3 separate regions of the Homo sapiens genome follow, and all the other regions are linked to region 3. The links are contacts of gene promoters, found by promoter capture Hi-C in human tissues and cell types (Jung and others, 2019). All regions are on one chromosome and are shown on one strand. Each heading gives the region's core, a stretch centred on a gene start or on the middle of the fragment in contact. The rest is flanking DNA. Distances are from core to core; before and after follow the strand shown. Region 1 overlaps ERVK13-1 (endogenous retrovirus group K13 member 1). Region 2 holds the start of KCTD5 (potassium channel tetramerization domain containing 5). Region 3 holds the start of PRSS21 (serine protease 21).

What was found. The method cuts DNA at HindIII sites, captures the fragments that hold promoters and counts their contacts. A contact is called where the count stands out against the background at its distance.
Region 1: a contact is called between a fragment that was not itself captured here and the fragment with the promoter of PRSS21 in region 3, in 2 of the 25 tissues and cell types used here (lymphoblastoid cells and spleen).
Region 2: a contact is called between the fragment with the promoter of KCTD5 here and the fragment with the promoter of PRSS21 in region 3, in 3 of the 25 tissues and cell types used here (liver, mesenchymal stem cells and spleen).

What each region holds. Positions count from the first base shown.
Region 1 is chr16:2,662,055-2,666,562 of GRCh38, forward strand. It overlaps ERVK13-1 (endogenous retrovirus group K13 member 1), which reads right to left. Exons shown (of 3, transcript NR_040023.1): 3 at 1-1,353. Among named protein-coding and RNA genes, the nearest start is that of ERVK13-1, 9.1 kb to the right of the region's middle. The HindIII fragment of the contact is 6,273 bases long and covers 1-4,508 here.
Region 2 is chr16:2,681,264-2,685,518 of GRCh38, forward strand. It overlaps KCTD5 (potassium channel tetramerization domain containing 5), which reads left to right and starts at 1,260. Exons shown (of 6, transcript NM_018992.4): 1 at 1,260-1,537. The coding sequence starts at 1,286. RefSeq lists a silencer at 1,343-1,522 and enhancers at 1,618-2,228, 1,773-1,822, 1,893-1,942. The HindIII fragment of the contact is 14,940 bases long and covers 1-4,255 here.
Region 3 is chr16:2,814,769-2,819,353 of GRCh38, forward strand. PRSS21 (serine protease 21) reads left to right here and starts at 2,469. Exons shown (of 6, transcript NM_006799.4): 1 at 2,469-2,564; 2 at 2,662-2,688; 3 at 3,033-3,198; 4 at 3,909-4,201. The coding sequence starts at 2,501. RefSeq lists an enhancer at 171-671 and silencers at 2,337-2,616, 2,727-2,786. The HindIII fragment of the contact is 10,567 bases long and covers 821-4,585 here.

The sequences.
Region 1 (4,508 bases), core at 232-2,731, 150 kb before region 3:
AGCCCTTACCAAGAGAATACTTGTAGTGGGATTAAAAGTTGCATCAATGCAAGTGAACAGCTTACAGTTATGACATTCTATAGTTTGTGCATCAGGCATCATAATTATATTTCCAACCAACAGCATGTAAGGGGGTTTGACACAGCTCCTAATGGGTATCACCCATTCAGAAATAAGGGTGATGTTGAATGTGGGTGTTTTGGTTTTAGTACGAAGGAGCTGATAGGTAGTGTTCCATATCTTTATTCCCGACAAAGCTGCAGCTAATTTCCATAGTTCAGGATGTTCTGGGGTAAAAAAGGGATGAATAATTTTTGGTCTAGGAGGAGCAATACCTGTGTCCATCCATTTAAATGGGTAAGGAGACACCCGTTGTCTCATCGTGTAAGACTGCCACCCATGCTCTATATAATCTAAGGAATAAATAAACTCCGAGCATAAGGTATTTTTGCTGGAGCAATCTTGCCAATAATGTCCTTTTGGAGCCCAATCAATAACAATACCCATGGCTAGAGTTTGGAGTACAACAGCCTTGGGAGCATTACAATTATCCCATAAAATTGAAGTCACTATAAAAGGCCCATTTGTAGGTTTCTTTGGACAGTCCGGCAGTCCTTTTGTTTTATTAGTTTTGGTAGTGAGAGGAACTCTCCATGCCTCATGTGGGGTACGTTTGACAGTGAGAAGTTGAAAAGAGTTAGTACTGAACACATTATATACTTGATAAGAATCATTTGTAAAGGACGGTACAGTCCACATCCAATTCTGTTAAGAATAAGCTAAACAACCAGGCGACTTCCCAATACATAATGGTGGATATTTATAGCCAATTGACAGATTAAAGTGCATACCTTCTTCTTCCGGTTGAGCTGGAAACCGATCATCATTAGGGATCGGCATGAATGCACTATTATTAGTGTAAACTTCTACTGGAGAGTCCCTCCAGGAGACAGACCGAATTAGAAGGGGAAAAGGAACATATGCCCAATAAGTATAATTTTGAGTTGCCCCGACCGGTGGTATACTTACCGCTGCACTGACTACCATAAAGGCAGCCAGAATTATATTACCAGTCATTTTTGGGATTCCTTTTTCTGTTAAGAATTTTTCTGTTTGATGAGATAAAATCTGTATTCGACCCCAAGTAGGTGGGGTTGAACGAGAGGTGTTGTAGGTCACACGGCGAGATTTTGTCTCAATGTGGATGTCATGAAGTGTATGTATCAGGCGGTGAAAGTTGCTCTTTTGTTTCCGATGGGTCTTTGCCTTTTCTTTCTGGGAGCGTTTCATCTTTGGAGTTATGGTGCAATTTTAATTGTCGGGAGGGGACCCACACAGGCTGTAGTTCTTTTCCTGGGGAAACACAAACAAAACCCCTACCCCAAGTTATGACCGTGCCTAATTCCCATGTGTTAGTTTTTACGTCCTTCCACCATACCCGCATTCCTTTTTGTGGATCAAATTTATTTCCAGTGAAATGTTGTTCTGCGGCTGTGAAAGGTTGATTTCTTGTTAAGTTTAAGAAATTTAGTGTGAAAAGAGCCAGATTTAATTGGGCATGAGGAGTAATAGCATCTCCCTTTGATTTAGTATCCTGTTTACGAAGTTGATCTTTGAGTGTTTTATTGGCTCGTTCAACCAAGGCCTGTTCTCCAGAGTTATAGGGAATGCCCGTTGTGTGAGTAATTGCCCATGTCTGAGGAAACTTTTTAAAAGCAGCACTAGTGTAGGCGGGGCCGTTATCAGTTTTTAGTTTCTCAGAACAGCCCATAACCGAGAAACAGGAAGGCACATGTCGTTTACCATGAGCTGTACTTTCGCCCGTTTCACAAGTGGCCCAAATAAAATGAGAAAAGGTATCAATAGTTACATGTATAAAAGAAAGCTTGCCAAAAGGAGGATAATGAGTCACATCCATTTGCCAAAGAGCATTCTGTGAAAGTCCTCTAGGGTTAACTCCTGAAGACAGTGGTGGTAAAATTAACACTTGACAAGTAGGACAGTGACGCACAGTAGTTTTAGCTTGCTTCCATGTAAGGGGGAACTTGTTTCGGAGTCCCGCAGCATTGACGTGAGTTAAAGCATGAAAATTTTCTGCATCTGTAAAAACGGGAGTAACTAATGTATCAGCTCTGGCATTTGCTGCCGAGAGGGGTCCGGGGAGGGGTGTGTGGGCCCGAATGTGAGTACTGTAGAAAGGAGAAGACCTTGCTCTGAGCACAGACTGAAACTTTTGAAAAAGAAGGAATAGGTTATCATCAGGCAGAAATTTGATTAAGGCAGTTTCAATGTTGCGAGCAACATGTACGACATACGCTGAGTCAGAGAAAATGTTAACTGGCTCAGGAAAATCTTCAAGGACAGCCATAACAGCAGGCAGTTCAGCTCGTTGTGCTGAAATAGCCCCTGTGTTAAGAACACGTTCTCTGGGTCCTGTATATGCTGCTCGGCCATTAGAGGAAGCATCAGTGAAAACAGTGACAGCTTCAGGTAATGGGGTGTTTCTAGTAATGTTACGTAAAATCCAAGACGTGAGTTTAAGGAACTGAAATAATTTTACATGAGGATAGTGATTATCAATTATACCTGGGAAACGTGCCAAATGCACTTGCCAAGCAATGCAAGTAGCAAAGCCTGTTGAACTTGTAATCGGGTAAGGGGAACAACGATTTTTTGAGGCTCTGTTCCTGAAAGACGAAGGAGACGAGAACGAGCCTGACCAATTAAGGTAGAAATTTGATCTAGATAGTTAGTGTACGTAAAGAGCTGTGTGGGAGAAAACACAATTCAATTAAATTATGTCCCTGAATAATGAGTCCTGTTGGTGAATGTTCAGTGGGAAAAATTAGTACTTCAAAAGGTAAATGTGGATTTACTCTGGTAACCTGAGACTGTTGAATGCATTTTTTTATAAGTCGTAATTTAGAATCTGCCTCAGGAGTCAAAGACCTTTTACTGCGTAAATCAGGATTGCCCCGTAATATTGCAAAAAGATTAGACACAGCATAAGTAGGAATGCGTAGGGAGGGACGAATCCAATTAATATCTCCAAATAATTTTTGGAAATCATTTAGAGTTTTTAAAGAGTCTCGTCTGAGTTGAACTTTTTGAGGCTTAATGACCTTATCCTCTAGCTGCATCTCTAAATAGTGATAAGGAGATGAAGTGTGAATTTTTTCTGGGGCGATAACCAAGCCAGCTGCTGTGACCACTTGCTGTAATGCAGAAAAACAAGATATTAATACAGAGCGTGAAGGTGCTGCACAAAGAATATCATCTGTGTAATGAATAATATAACATTGGGGAAATTTATCTCTAACTGGCTTTAATATGCATCCCACATAATATTGACAAATAGTGGGGCTATTGAGCAGACCTTGAGGTAGGACTTTCCAATGGTAACGTGCTGCAGGAGCAACGTTGTTAAGGGCTGGAACAGTGAAAGCAAATTTTTCAAAGTCCTGAGGGGCCAGAGGAATGGTAAAAAAGCAATCTTTAAGGTCAATGATGATAAGTGGCCAATACTCAGTAATCATACTGGGGGAGGGCAAACTGGGTTGTAATGTCCCCATAGGCTGAAGGACAGCATTTACTGCCCTAAGATCAGTAAGCATTCTCCACTTACCAGATTTCTTTTGAATAACAAAAACAGGTGAATTCCAAGGAGAAAAAGAAGGTTCAATGTGTCCCAATTTTAACTGTTCAAGAACCAAAATATGAAGTGCCTCCAGCTTATTTTTTGGGAGCAGCCACTCATCTACCTAGACAGGTTTTTAAGTTCTCCAGGTCAAAGGGATGGGTTCTGGAGGCTTGATAGTGACCACTTCTAAAAAGAATAACCAAGTCCTGTAGAGTCTGCTTTAGGAGTAGGTATGATATGCTCAGTGATGCCTTGTGCTGATTTTTCTAAACCCAGACCTTGAACAAATCCCATTTTGGTCATCATATCTTTACTCTGCTGGCTGTAACTGCCTTTAGGAAAAGTAATCTGAGCCCCCCATTGATATAAAAGATCTCTTCCCCACAAATTAACAGGAATGGGTGTAATGAGGGGGCGAATAGTTCCAATCTGTCCTTCAGGCCTGTGCAATGTAAAATTGTGGAACTTTCATATACCTGTGAAGCCTGACCAACACCCACGAATGCTGTGGAGGCATGCTCCTTTGGCCAGTGTCGGGGCCATCGATGTAAAGCGATAATGGACACACCAGCGCCCGTGTCAATCATTCCCTCAAACTTTTTTCCCTGAATATGCACGGAGCACACAGGACGAGTGTCAGAAATTTTGCTGGCCCAGTAGGCTGCTTTACCTTGATAATCTGTGCTACCAAAACCTCCCTTTCTTGTACTAGAACTAGATCCCAAAGGAATGTAAGGAAATATCAAGAGTTGAGCAATGCGGTCCCCAGCTGCTGCATTCCAAGGGACTGCAGAGCTAATGATAATATGAATTTTACCTGAATAGTCAGAATCAATTACACCAGTATGTACTTGAACACCTTTTAAAT
Region 2 (4,255 bases), core at 10-2,509, 130 kb before region 3:
AGAAGGTTATTTGCTGGCTATTGTTGGCCTCTAGTTCAGCCTGTTATTTAAATTCTTTTTTTTTCTTGAGACGGAGTCTCACTCTGTCGCCCAGGCTAGAGTGCAGTGGCCTGATCTCGGCTAACTGCAACCTCCGCCTCCTGGGTTTAAGCAATTCTCTGCCTCAGCCTCCGAGTAGCTGGGATTACGAGCGCCCACAACCACATCTGGCTAATTTTTTGTATTTTTGGTAGAGACGGAGATTCACCATCTTGGCCAGGCTGATGTTGAACTCCTGACCTCGTGATCCACCCACCTTGGCCTCCCAAAGTGTTGGGATTACAGACATGAGCCACCGCGCCCGGCCTAAATTCTAATATATGAATTATTTGTATTGAATTCATGTTCGGGGCCACGTTGTTATATGTATTGATATACAGCCTTGAATGTGAATAATTACTATATATTTTACAACTTTTTTCTGGCTTTATTACAAAAACTTTCTTTTTTTTTTTTTGAGACAGACTCTCGCCCTATCACCAGGCTGGAGTGCAGTGGCGAGATCTCAGCTCACTGCAACCTCTGCCTCCCGGGTTCACGCCATTCTCCTGCCGCAGCCTCCCGAGTAGCTTGGATTACCGGCGCCCACCACCGCGCCAGGCTAATTTTTGTATTTTCAGTGGAGACCGGGCCTCACCATGTTGGCCAGCGTGGTCTCGATCTCCTGACCGCCTGATCCTCCCGCCTCGGCCTCCCAAAGTGCTGGGATTACAGGCGTGAGCCACCAGGCCCCGCCCTTATTATATAAATTTTCTATTGGGTCAATGATTTAATCATATAATTTAATGAATCTGTTCTTTTTTTCCCCCCAAATATTTGTGCTTTAGGTGTAGTTACCAGATGATGAATTTTCCTCCTATGCTCCGTAGTCTTGTAATAAAAAGCATGTACAGTGTAGACGTTTGCTGGCATGGCTCTTCCTTTGACCAGTTCATGAACTGGAGTCAGGGTGGGGGTGAAGGCTAGGGTCGAGGTCTGGGTCAGGCGCTCGTGCACCGCTCGTGGGAGGTCGAGGCTGATGTCCGCTGCTCCCCATCAGCGTTAGTGCCCAGATCACCCCGTGCTCCGCTCCCGCCGGAAGCGGGCCCAGCCTCCTGCTTTTCGGGACCGGAACTTCCGCCTACCGCGTGACGCCGGGGCGGGCGCTCTACCAGGGCGGACCTGTGGGCGGGACAGAACTCAGAGGACGCTATTAAAAGCCGGACGCTTCCGGTGGAAGGGAGCTGTTGCGGGGCTTGCTGGGATCATGGCGGAGAATCACTGCGAGCTCCTGTCGCCGGCCCGGGGCGGCATCGGGGCGGGGCTGGGGGGCGGCCTGTGCCGCCGCTGCAGCGCTGGGCTCGGCGCCCTGGCCCAGCGCCCTGGCAGCGTGTCCAAGTGGGTCCGACTCAACGTCGGCGGCACCTACTTCCTCACCACTCGGCAGACCCTGTGCCGGGACCCGAAATCCTTCCTGTACCGCTTATGCCAGGCCGATCCCGACCTGGACTCAGACAAGGTGAGGGCCTCACGGGCCAGCCCGGAGGGTCCTGGCCTTCCCGGCCTGCGGCTCCTGCACACGCCCTGCTTCGTGCGGAGGAGACTTCAGCGGGAGCGGGCGACTCTCCTCGGGCTTCGAGCCCCGCGCTCCCTTGTCGCCAGCTCCTCCCCAGCTTGCCCCGATCCCCTACCCTGGGAGGGGAGGGTGAGGATGGCGCCCTGGCGTCCACTGCCTTTGAGGATCCTGAGTCGATTCACCTTGGGGGTGTCTCTTCCTCGCCCTCTTTGCTCTTTGGTGGAGGAGGCTTCCTAGACCCCGGACTTTGCTGTGATTCTACTTTCTTTTTCTCACTAGGTTCTTTTGCCCAGGGTGTGTGAACGCCTTCTCTTCTCTGTCCCAGGGTACTTGCTGGCTCTGGAAACAGAACCCTTGGCGTTGTTTCACATTCTGGACGTTTGAATTAACGCTGACGTGGGGGTTGATATGGGCGGCCCTTTTTTTCCCTGGTGACTTGCATTTAGAGAGTTGGCGCTCCATCCTTTCCATCCACAGCACGCAGCACCCACTCAGCACCTCTTAGAAGATGCGTCCGTAGTATATAGTATGATTTTTCGAAGGGGATTTTGCTCATATTAAGGGTTGCTTTAGGGATGTCCAGGAAGGGTCAGGTAAGGAATCTTTCAATCTGCTTTCTAATTGGCTTAGTTTTCCCACTGTCTTCGCAAAAGGACAGGAATTTCCAGGTTAGTTTGCAGCTTGTCTTTCATCAAGCGAAATGCTCATGCTGTTGGGTAGATGGTAATAGAAACCTTTTGCTACCTTTATTTATCAAGAGTTGTGGAGCCGAGGAACCGTGTCTTGGGAGTTGTGCAGGATTGAAACTCACAAAAAAGCCTGTTTGAAGAAGTTGTTACCTATATTTATTCAAGGCAGTTCACAAGCCTTATACTAACTTTGCGGGGTCTTTCAGTTGAGCTTACATGACTGCGCTTGGCTTTGTGCCTTGGCAGCCAACATTTGCCATGCAGGAGGCTTCCCAGAAAGGTTCGGATCCCTCTTCAAGTTTGAGAAGCCTGACTGAGACCATTCTCAGCATGGCATGACCGTGATCAGGAAGTGAGAATCTGGAGTTACTGCTAAGGCAGCCTTGTGGGTGGAAATGAGGGTTTGAGATGCCAACCCTCCTGTGCCTCCCCACAACTTCCAACTGTTTCCATTGCTCATTTGACCAAGCCCTCTACTCAGAGAATTGACCTCCCAGGAAATGACAGTCATCCCCAGGATAGAAATAGGCGTTTGTTAGCTGTGATTTTCCTTTTATAAGTGTGGGTGTATGTTTTACTGTTTGGTTTTTCTTTTTAAATAACAGGGCTTAGTGGTCACTCCCTTGCCTTTCTACTCAAGCATTCCTGTTTTGTATATGAAATTAGAGTTTAAATTGCTCTTGTCCATTGGGTTCTTTGAGGCAATGGTTGTCTATTCAGCACTGGAGCACTTGATTCCCAGTTGATGAACTTTAGCACAGTTAAGGTGGTTGATCCCTTTGCTTTACTGTTCCTTAAGACTTTGTTAAAAATTATGGGCCAGGCGCGGTGGCTCATGCCTGTAATCCCAACACTTTGGGAGGCCCAGGCAGGTGGATCTCGTTCAAAACCAACCGGGCCAATATGGTGATGCCCGGTCTCTACTAAAAATACAAAAAGGTGGGCGCGGTGGCTCACGTCTGTAATCCCAGCACTTTGGGAGGCCGAGGCAGGCGGATCACGAGGTCAGGAGATCGAGACCATCCTGGCTAACATGATGAAACTCTGTCTCTACTAAAAATACAAAAAATGAGCCAGGCGCGGTGGCGAGCACCTGTAGTCCCAGCTACTAGGCAGTCTGAGGCAGGAGAATGGCGTGAGCCTGGGAGGAGGAGCTTGCAGTGAGCCTAGTTAGCGCCACTGCAGTCCAGCCTGGGTGAAAGAGCAAGACTCCATCACAAAAAAAAAAAAATAAAAAAAAAATAAGCCAGGTGTGGTGGCGCGTGCCTGTAGTCCCAGCTACTCTGGAGGCTGAGGCAGAAGAATCGCTTGAACCTGGGAGGTGGAGCTTGCAGTGAGTCAAGATCACGCCACTGCACTCTAGCTTGGATGACAGAGGAAGACTCTGTCTCAAACAAACAAAAAAATGCTTTACTGTAGGAATCAATTCTTTGAGCGAGGGGTAATTAATCTTTCTGAATATATCTGTGTTATACTTGCTCTTTTCATCATCATCCATTTAACCAGGTTTGATTTCCAAATGGTAAACTCAAATTCAGAACATGAAGGTAAAGTAGCAGATACAGTCGTCTCTGTCTCATACAATAATTGGAGTAGGGGCCGGGCAAGGTGGCTCACGCCTGTAATCCCAGCACTTTGGGAGGCCGAGGCGCGTGAATCACCTGAGGTCAGGAGTTTGAGAGCAGCCTGGCCAGCATGGCAAAACCCCGTCTCTACTAAAAATACAAAAAAATTAGCTGGGCATGGTGGCGCGTGCCTGTACTCCCAGCTACTCGGGAGGCTGAGGCAGGAGAACCACTTGAACCGAGAGGCAGAGGTTACAGTGGGCTGAGGTTGCGCCACTGCACTCCAGCATGGGCGACAGATCGAGACTCTGTCTCAAAAAAAAAGAAAAAAGAAAAGGAGAAAACAATAATTGGAGTAAATAAGGTTAGTTTTAGTGACAGATAGTTTGCCAAAAGTGTAGTGCTAA
Region 3 (4,585 bases), core at 1,219-3,718:
GGACTCACCCAAATGCACACTGGAGGGGATGTTCAGATGGCACGAGAACGGGGATCACACATGGTCGTTCACACACGTGCACTTGAAGATGCATGCACACACATACACCCAGACACACACACCCGCCCAGCCTCTCCTGCACGCAGGGGGCATGCACACACGAGGACGCTCCTCACCTGCATGCCTGACCTGGGGAAGAAGCCCACCTGGTGGGAGGCACCCTCCTCCCACCCTCCATCTGCCATGGCCCAAGTGCTGGCCCCGAGCCCGTGCCCAGGGAGACTCAACACAGGCCCTTTGTCCCTTGGGATCAGGGCTCCCAAGAGAGGGATTTACTGAGCATTTATTTCCTGCCCCGGGCACGCCCCAGTCCTCATTCTGCCAGGAGAAGGGAACAATGAGGCCTTCTCCTGCCCGCAGAGGTGGCTCCGGGCCGGCTGGCCCTTATGTGTCAGGAGTCGGGTTAGGACCACAAGTCCCTGTCCTCCCTGCCCTCCAGGTGTGGGGCTTGGGAAGACCCCTCTGTGACTCTGCAGCCTGAGGCACAGCAGACAAGAGAGTCTCCATCTGCAGCCCATGCAGCAGCCAGGGCCTCCCTGCAGCCCCCGGGCCAGGCTTGGCCTCTGCGGGAAGCCCCCAGCCTCACTGGAGGCAAGAACCTGAGTCCCTGGCTCAGATCTCCGGGTAGGACTGGCCTGACTGAGACCCTGGGCAAAACCAGGAGCTGACACCTCCTAGGGGCCTCAGCGGATCCCTGGGACTCAGGAACCAGAGGGAACGTCCTGCTGGCTGGGAGAGGGGCAGGATCAGAAGCCCAGGGACCTTTGCCCCAACCCAGCAGGCCAAGGCCAGGCTGTGCATGTGACTTGTCCTTGAGCAGCTGCTGCTGGGGAAGGAGGCCCTGAGGGAAGGCACCGCAGCCTTGTGCTCCTGAAACCCGAAGCTCCCACACACCCGCTGCGCCCTCATTGAGTTCCCGTTGGTACCATGCTCTGTGCTAAGCATTTTATCTGTACTTTCCCCAAAGAAACTTAATACTTTTATTGGAAAACCAGAACGCCTAACCACACATTTTGCCTAATCTTTCATGTAATTAACCTTCCACTAGTGCAAGTGTTGAAAGTAGAATACGCTATTCCCAAGTTTCAAGTTGAGGGAGGCGGGATTCCCAGGTTCTGGTTGTACATTCCCATTTTCACTGATCTGTTCAGTGGTCAATGGATTCTTGGGTTGCTTTCATGTCAGCTACTGTGAATAATCCTGCTATGAACATGGGTATACAAATATCTCTTGAAGGCTGGGTGGGGTGGCTCACACCTTCACCCTGGCACTTTGGGAGGCCGCAGAGGGCAGATCACCTGAGGTCAGAAGTTCAAGACCAGCCTGGCCAACATGGCGAAACCCCATCTCTACTAAAAATACAAAAATTAGCTAAGCATGGTGGCAGGTGCCTCTAATCCCAGCTACTCTGGAGGCTGAGACAGGAGAATCACTTGAACCCAGGAGGCAGATGTTGCAGTGAGCCAAGATCGCACCACTGCACTCCAGCCTGAGCGATGGAGCAAGACTCCATCTCAAAAACAAACAAAACTAAATCCCCCCAAAAAACCAAAAACAAATATCTCTTGAAGACCTTCCTTTCAGTTCTTTTGGGTGTATGCTCAGAAGTGGAATTGCAGCTGGGCGCGGTGGCTCATGCCTGTAATCCCAGCACTTTGAGAGGCCGAGGTGGGCGGATTACCTGAGGTCAGGAGTTGGAGACCAGCCTGGTTAACATGGCGAAACCCCGTCTGTACTAAAAATACAAAAATGAGCCAGGTGTGCTGGCGCGCGCCTGTAACCCCAGCTACTTGGGAGGCTGAGGCAGGAGAATCGCTTGAACCCAGGAGGTGGAGGTTGCAGTGAGCTGGGATCACGCCAATGCACTCCAGCCTGGGCGACAAGAGCGAAACTCCATCTCAAAAAAAAAAAAAATTGTTCCAGAGAAGTGAAGAGAGCCCAGCGGGAGCCCGCAGTGGGGACAGCCTGGGCAGAGACTTGGGGAGATCCCCATTCTGGGTGGAACGGGCCGAGGACCACTGTTTTCCCAAGAAGGTCCCATGAAGGAGCAGCCATGCCTCTAGGCCCCACCCGGCCTTCAGGGGGTCCCCAGGCTTTAAGGGGACTCCTGGCTCAGGGCCAGGCCCTTGGTGCTGGAGGAGGTTGTAGGTGGAGGACGGGGTCACCAAGAGGGCAGCCGGGACCCCTGGGCTGCAGACAAGAAAGGGACTGTGGGGTCCACCGGGTCTGGGCCACATCAAGAAGTGTGGTTGAAGACCCGCCCCTAGGGGCTGAAAGCCAGGGCGCTGCCAGGCATGAGAGGCCCCAAACAGCCCTTGGGCCCAGGAGGGTGAAGCTGGGAGTAGAGGGCAGAGCTCCCACCCCGCCCCGCCCCCAGGGGGCGCCCCGGGCCCGGCGCGAGAGGAGGCAGAGGGGGCGTCAGGCCGCGGGAGAGGAGGCCATGGGCGCGCGCGGGGCGCTGCTGCTGGCGCTGCTGCTGGCTCGGGCTGGACTCAGGAAGCCGGGTGAGCTCGGGGCGCTGCTGGCGGGATGGGGAGGCGGGGGAGCGGTGGGGAGGACGGGAGGTGGAGGCCGCGGGGAGTCACTTCTTGTCTCCCGCAGAGTCGCAGGAGGCGGCGCCGTTATCAGGTAGGGCGCCCAGGACGCGCGATTCCTGCCAGGGCCGTTGGGCCGAGGTGGACGGGGGGCGGTGAGGGGGTAGAGGGGGGCCTTTACTGCTCTCTCGCCCCCGCCCCCGGGATCGAGAACTCTGTTGGCGTGGAAAGTAACTAACGGACGCTGGAGGGGGATGGGCGGGCCCTGCAGAGCACGTGGGAGGATCTCCAGTGTCACCTACTTCCTGCTGCACACACGCGAGGGGACCCTGGGTGGGCAAAAACGTGCTTTCCCGGACGGGGTTGAAGGGGAGAAAGGGAGAGGTCGGGCTTGGGGGGCTGCCTCCCGCGGCTCAGCAGTTCCTCTGACCATCCGAGGACCATGCGGCCGACGGGTCATCACGTCGCGCATCGTGGGTGGAGAGGACGCCGAACTCGGGCGTTGGCCGTGGCAGGGGAGCCTGCGCCTGTGGGATTCCCACGTATGCGGAGTGAGCCTGCTCAGCCACCGCTGGGCACTCACGGCGGCGCACTGCTTTGAAACGTGAGTGGGGGTGCGAACGGAGGGGTGCGGGGACGGGCAGGAACAGGGCTGGAGGGAGTGCCACCGAACTTTACCTCTGGTCTGATGCCAGACTTGGGCGTGAAAGTTGTGCGTGGATGCGGCCTGGTGTTCTCCTGAGCCCCAGGCTGTGCTGCAGCCGGTTACACCCACTCCAGTTCCCTTTGGGTCTCCTGGAGGGAACCCTGTTCAGGTTATTCCAGAATGTTCTTCCAGAACATTTCCACACACTTTTGGGTATTCTCTCCCTTTTTCTTTCAACCCAAAGTTCACCACTGACCATCCCACCCTCATCCCCCCTCCTGGTGGACGGTGCGGTACAGTGTGGGGCACTGAGCCAAGGCCAGCACCCCCGGGCCGCTGTGTGGACTCCATCCTGCCAATCCCACATTGGCGTGGTGCATCTCCCCATTCCTCCTTGGGCTGCATGGGGGTGCCCCTGGAGGCCTTGGCTCAATGCAAGGCTCCTTGGGACAGCTCTGGGAGGTGACAAGACCCCACCCTTCTGCTGCAGGAGCAGGTCCTAGGACTTTGGTTGTGGTCTGTCTGGGCTCCTTCATTTCTGCAGGGGACCCTGGGTGTTAGCAAGTAGCAGCAACACCACAGTTTCCCCTCCTGCACTGGACCCCAGTTGTGCTCAGGTAGCCAGCCCTCCATCCAGGGCCCCTGACTGCTCTCTTCTCTTCTGCCAGCTATAGTGACCTTAGTGATCCCTCCGGGTGGATGGTCCAGTTTGGCCAGCTGACTTCCATGCCATCCTTCTGGAGCCTGCAGGCCTACTACACCCGTTACTTCGTATCGAATATCTATCTGAGCCCTCGCTACCTGGGGAATTCACCCTATGACATTGCCTTGGTGAAGCTGTCTGCACCTGTCACCTACACTAAACACATCCAGCCCATCTGTCTCCAGGCCTCCACATTTGAGTTTGAGAACCGGACAGACTGCTGGGTGACTGGCTGGGGGTACATCAAAGAGGATGAGGGTGAGGCTGGGGACAGGCGGGTCAGGGAGGAACTGTCTTTGTTCACCTGTTCCCCTGCATAGGCACAATAGCCCCCTGCTTGGTCTGGGGGTGCAGGCTATGCCCCTCTTGCTTGCAGTCTCTCCTCACCTGCCAGGGCAGGGACCAAACACCCAGTTCTCTCCCTTCCAGGGGCTGTGGGGGCCAGAAGGAGAGTGTGAGAGGGAGGCCAGTTTGGCGCAGGCCTGTGGGTGGTGCGGTGGTGGAGGGGTTCTGGAGGGCTTGGCGACATAAACCTCATACTTGGATTTATTCCTGCATCTTTCCACCTCCCCCAGTGCTCACCAATGCCCCAGGCATCAGGCTCCTGGGCTGCCTCTCCATGCCTCCCACACCCACCCTAGC